Regions from separate parts of the Homo sapiens genome. Here region 2 is linked to region 1. The links are contacts of gene promoters, found by promoter capture Hi-C in blood cells and fetal thymus (Javierre and others, 2016). All regions are on one chromosome and are shown on one strand. The core of a region is centred on a gene start or on the middle of the fragment in contact, and the rest is flanking DNA. Distances in the headings are between cores, read along the strand shown. Region 1 holds the start of SHISAL1 (shisa like 1). Region 2 has its middle 10 kb from the start of LINC00207.

The links. The method cuts DNA at HindIII sites, captures the fragments that hold promoters and counts their contacts. A CHiCAGO score of 5 or more calls a contact.
Region 2: a fragment that was not itself captured here is called in contact with the fragment with the promoter of SHISAL1 in region 1 in 7 of 17 cell types (total CD8 T cells, naive CD8 T cells, M1 macrophages and 4 more); the score reaches 8.2 in total CD8 T cells.

Annotation. Positions count from the first base shown.
Region 1 is chr22:44,311,478-44,314,412 of GRCh38, reverse strand. It overlaps SHISAL1 (shisa like 1), which reads left to right and starts at 1,462. Exons shown (of 5, transcript NM_001099294.2): 1 at 1,462-1,662. LOC101927499 (a long non-coding RNA gene) reads right to left here and starts at 1,402. Exons shown (of 2, transcript XR_244444.3): 1 at 1,270-1,402. The HindIII fragment of the contact is 15,394 bases long and covers 1-2,935 here.
Region 2 is chr22:44,557,741-44,560,675 of GRCh38, reverse strand. No RefSeq gene overlaps it. Among named protein-coding and RNA genes, the nearest start is that of LINC00207, 10 kb to the left of the region's middle. The HindIII fragment of the contact is 2,757 bases long and covers 184-2,935 here.

The sequences.
Region 1 (2,935 bases), core at 213-2,712:
AAATCCACAGGGCAGTCCAGGCTCAGAGAGACAGAGAAACATGCCCAGGATCACACAGCTGAGAAGCGGCAAGGGACTTGAACCCGTGTTCAAACCCCAAGCTCAGAGCCCTTTTGTTTCTCTGCTGCTATGCTGAGCCCCAGACAAGAGGCAGGAGGAACTTTGTGTGCCTTGTTCCCTCTGCCAGGAACACTCCCCCACCCCCACCCCCGCCCCACCGCCCGACTCATCCTTCAGGTGTCCACACCAGACCCCCTGGTCTGAGTCCCCAGCCAGGCGACCCAGGACGAGTTACTGAAACTCTGTACCTCAGTTTCCGCATCTGTAAATTGGGGATAATCACAGCCCCTCCTAATCATGAAGATTAAATAAATACCACCCCCACTCCCGGCCCCTACCCCGTCAGGCTGCATCAGGCACTCTGGGCGCCCATAGCCCCCTGGTTTCCCATCGTGGCACCCATCGCTCTGGGCTGCCATTGTTGGGACCGTGGTTAGATGAGGGGCACCCAGACCAGTCTGAACTCGCTCTCTGTCCACCGAAAGGAATGGAAAAAGGAGGTTTATTTCTGGCCTGGCTCAGGATGGGCAGGCTTCCAGGGATGGGTGGGAGGCAGAGGAGGGCTGGCCTCCTTTATGGCTGCGTTTAAATGCCACCCAGAAGCCAGCCAAGGGCGCCGCCAAGGTACCACGATGCACGAAGGCCCAGGGGTGGGAGACGGCCATGGGCTGGGGGGGTGCCTGGCACCCAGGAAGTGTGGCTGCAGAGGCCAGCCAGGCCCCTGGGCTGTGTCCAGACAGTCATGGAAGCCACTGATGTGTTTCGAACAGTGGCAGGTGTGGGCATCCCCCGCCCTGTTCCTGCCCCATCCCCACCCCATTCCTACTGGCAGGGAGGACCCTCTGCTGCTGGGTGGGGACAGGCCAGGGGTAGGGGGGCAACAGCAGGAAGATCAGCCCAGCTTGGAGTCAGGCAGGTGCCACACACCCTCTGTGGGCTCTCGGGTCCCAGCTACCCTTCCTCCCCGGGCTGGTGTGGGGACCGTTTGTTTTACCCACACCCCTCCCCGGGCCATGCTGGCCAGAGGGGCTTGTGCAGTGGTGCCACTGACCTCCATTGCCCAACAGAGACTGAGGGCCACGGGAGGGAACCCACATGTATTGTGCCAAGCATCTGCTGAGGTGCGGACCTGGAGCCCGGTGCCCTGGGTCTAAGCCCCTGCTGCTTCTAGCTGTGGGATCTCACAGGGAGTGTCTCTAGTTTGCTCACCTGTAAAATGGGGCTCTTGCTGGTGCTCTGAGGATGCACAAGGCTGTAAGACCAGAGGCTGGAGTGCGTGGGGACTGCGGGAGCAGCCGCTGCCATCCTGGGCCTGGGAGGTGGCGGCCCTAGGCCCAGGCGGGAGCTGGACTCCTGCAGGGCTGACTCAGCGCCCTAGCCCCACTCCCCGCCCTGAGGAGCACACTGAATTCTTGTCAGCACACAGAGGCCAGCCTGCGCTGGAAAACACTCTTTTGCCTATACAAGGCTCGACCAAGTTGCTCTCCTTTTATTGGGGTTTAAGGTTGGTGGCAACCAGGAGCCGGGGAAGAGGCCAGCAGCTGCAGGGAGACCGCAGCCAGCGGAGGGGGCTTCTGATCCCTCAGTCACAGGGCTCGGCAGGTAAGGAGCAGCCTGTGGAGGTTTCCAGGTCCTCACTGTGCAGGGGCACCTCTGTTCCTTCACGCTGACCCTGGGGTCCCTGCCCTGGCTAAGCACTGGGTCTAAGGGAGAAGCCAGGCAAGGCTGCTAAGTGACTCCTAGTCACAGAAGAATGGGAGGGGCCGGGGTGACGGCTATGCCAGTGGGGCAAGATGGGGAGCAGGCTCTGATCTAGAGGGGTGGGAGCCCTGTGGGGGTGCACAGATGCTGGTGCTACTACCTACCTGCTGTGTGACCTTGAGCAAGTTGCTGACCGTCTCTGTGCCTCAGTGTCCTTGTGTCAAGAGCCTTGCATAGAGAGGGGTTGGAGAGAAGGCCAAAGGCTCGGGGGAGGGTCCGGCATGGCCTAGGGAGTGCTCTCAGGATGCCCTAGTCATGGCCTGGAGGGCATTTGGTTGGCTTCACGGGGGTGAGGTGGGTCTGTTCGACCCACTTCAGAGTCTGCAGTCCCAGTCCAGCATCACACCGGTACGAAATAAGTGAATAGATGAATGAATGAATGAATGAACGAACAAATGAATGCATTGGCCCCTCCGAATACGCCTTCAAGGCAGGTTTGTTGTCCCCATTTACAGATTGGGAAACTGAGGCTTAGGGCTTTGGCTTCTCTTCACTCCAGTGAGGAAGGGGTTCTGGGGACCAGGGAGGCTGAGGGAGCTGAAGAGAAACCCAGAGCCACCCCCACCCCGAGGCGAGCGCCATGCCTGTCTTTCCTCTTCCTGCCCTGACACTTTAAGTGATTCATTCTTCATGTGATATTTTTGTGTTTCTCCAGTGGGAAAAAAATGCCTCTGGGATTTCCAGGGGTTGTTTTATCTCCATGGTGCAACCAAATAACTCAGGAGGACAGAGAGAAACAAAGGGTTGTTGAGCTGAAGAAGGCCCATGATTGTCTCGGCCAAGCTCTCCCTTTAATAGGGGAGGAAACTGAGTCTGGCCTGAGCCCCTCGCCCTGTGACCCAGTGTGGCCCCCTGGAGGACAGTGGGGCATCTAGGGCCTTCAGCAGGGTTGGGGTTTCCAGCTAAGCCCCTTTCAGCTGTGTGTTCTCGCTCAAGTCCCCCTTTCCCCAGGCCTCAGCTTCCTCATCTGTAAAATGGGATCACAGTGGTGCCTACTTCCAACATTCGAGACAGTAGCACATGCAGAGAACTTTGATGGGTGCAGAACTGGCCCAGGCCAGGGGCTCAAAAGGGGGAACCATTGAAACAGCTGAGTTTGTAACTTGGACTCAGA
Region 2 (2,935 bases), core at 313-2,812, 250 kb before region 1:
TTTACCTCTTTGCATAGATGGTGATTTTTGATTAGGTACAAGAAATTGTGAGCTCTGGTTGTTGGGTGTGGTTTAATTAATTAATTTTGCCTGTATTCCTTTAAATATTTTTTACAAAATTTTCTGGGCATTAAATCAGTTACTTGGAAACAGTTGGATCCTTCTGAGGCTTGATTTTAAGCTTTGTTCCAGTGTTTCTTTTTCTAATCTGAGGTCACTTCCTCACACGCATGTGCTGATCAGTACTCAGCTAAAGAATGGAGGGTAACCCCTCAGGGTTATAGATGTAGGTATAGTCAGTTGTTTGGGTACCATTTGTTAAAAAGTTTTTTCTTTTCCTTAACTTGCTTTAGCACCTAAGGTAAAAAGAAATCAATTGACCGTATAAACATGAGTTTCCTTCTGGCCTCTATTCTGTTCTAGTGCTTTTATTTGTCTATGTTTATGCCATTATTGTACTGTCTTCACTATCATAACTTTATAGCAAGTCTTGAAATTATGTCGTAAAAGTCCTCCAAACTTATTTTTCTTTTTGAACTTTTTTTTTTGGCTATTCAATGTTTTCCAATTTCTGCATACGTTTTGGAATCAACTGTGATGCTTGTAAGATTCCAGAGGCCCTCACAGAAGCTAAGCAGATGTTGAAGCCGTGGTTGTACAGTCTGCAGAACCATGAGCCAATTAATTATCTTTTCTTTATGAATTATTCAGTCTCATGTATTTCTTTATAGCAATGCATGAGTGGTCTAACACAGAAACTGTACTGAGGAGTGGGTCTCAGGTGAGACTTTAGACCAGATGTGGGGCTTTTGAGTTAATGGTGGAATAAGTTAAGATTTCAGGGGACTATTGGGAAGGTATGATTGTATTTTGCAATGTGAGAAGGACATGAGATTTGGGGGCGCCAGGGGCAGAATGATGTAGTTTGGATATTTGTCCCCACTCAAATCTCACGTTGATTACCTTCAATGTTGCAGGTGGGGCCTGATGGGAGGTGATTGGATCATGGGGGTGGATCCCTTATGGCTTGGTGCTGTTCTCCGCGTAGTGAGTGCGTACTCATGAGACCTGCTTGTTTAAAAGTGTGTGTCGCGGCCTGGCGTGGTGGCTCACGCCTGTAATCCCAGCACTTTGGGAGGCCGAGGCGGGTGAATCACGAGGTCAAGAGTTCGAGATCAGCTTGGCCAATATGGTGAAACCCTGTCTCTACTAAAAAAAAAATACAAAAATTAGCTGGGCATGGTGGCACGTGCCCGTAGTCCCAGCTACTCGGGAGGCTGGGGCAGAAGAATCGCTTGGACCCATGAGGCGGAGGTTGCAGTGAGCAAAGATCGTGCCACTGCACTCCAGCCTGGGCAACAGAGTGAGACTCCATCTCCAAAAAAAAAAAATTAAAAAAAAAAAAAAAAAGGAAAAGTGTGCGTTGCTGCTCCCCCATCTCCTTTGCTCTGCTCTTGCCATGTGAGGTGCCTGCCTCTCCTTCACCTTCTGCTATGACTGCAAAGTTCCAGAGGTCCTTGACGGAAGCCAAGCAGATGTTGGTGCCATGCAGAATTGTGAGCCAATTCAACTTCTTTTCTTTATTTTTAAAAAAGAATCAACTTTTAACTTTAAAAATGACTGCTAGGGCTGGGCGCGGTGGCTGACACCTGTAATCTCAGCACTTTGGGAGGCCGAGGTGGGTGGATCACTTGAGGTCAGGAGTTCAAGACCAGCCTGAGCAATATGGTGAAACCCCGTCTCTACCAAAAATACAAAAAAATTAGCTGGGCGTGGTGGTGCGTGCCTGTAGTCCCAGTGACTCACAAGGCTGAGGCAGGAGGATTGCTTAAGCCCGGGAGACAGAGGTTGCAGTGAGCTGAGACTGTGCCACTGCCCTCCAGCTTGGGTGACAGAGTGAGACTGTCTGAAACAAAACAAAACAAAAAAAACAAATCAAAACAAAAAAAATGACTACTGAGATTAAATTATTTAAAAAACATTATCATTGAGCTATAATTGACATATAATAGATGACACACATTTAAAGTACACAGTTTAGTAAGTTATGAAGCGTGTGTTCATGTGTGGGCCATCGTCACAATCAAGACAATGGACATGAGCCTCAGCCCCAGGAGTTTTCCTCTGACTCTTCTGTTTCCTTAATGCCCAACCCACCCTGGCCCCTAGGCAATCACCGATTTGCTTTTTGCCACTATAGATTGGTTTGTCGAGATTTTGATTGGGATTGCATTGAATCATTAGATAAATTTGGGGCAAATTGCTATCTTATAAATATTGAATCTTCCAGTCAATGATCATGGTATCTCTCCCCGTTTGCTTATTTCGTCTTTATTTTATCTCAGTACACATTACTATTATTATTATTATTATCATTAGAGATGGAGCCTGGCTCCCAGGCTGGAGTGCAGTGGCATGATCTCTGCTCACTGCAGCCTCCACCTCCCGGGTTTCAGCTATTCTCCTACCTCAGCCTCCTGGGTAGCTGGGATTACAGGCACCCACCACCACACCTGGCTAATTTTTGTATTTTTTTATTAGTAGAGACAGGGTTTCATCATGTCGGCCAGGCTGGTCTCAAACTCCTGACCTCAGGTGATCCTCCCGCCTCGCCTCCCAAAGTATTAGTATTAGAGGCATGAGCCACTGTGCCTGGCCTGTACACATTATTTTATAGCCTTTAGTGTAGAGGCTTTACATGTATTTTATTAAATGTATTCCTAAGTATTTGATGTTTTTTATGGTATTGCAAAGGTATCACTTTTAATATCAGTCATTACAGTGTATAGAAATGTGTCTTTCTCTATTGCCTTTTTATCCTGTGACCTTGTTAAATTTGCTTTCTAGTAAAGCAGTTAAAAGATCCCTTAGCATTTCCAACATATATAATATTATCTGTGAATAAAGACAGGTCTATCTCTTTCTTTCCATTTGT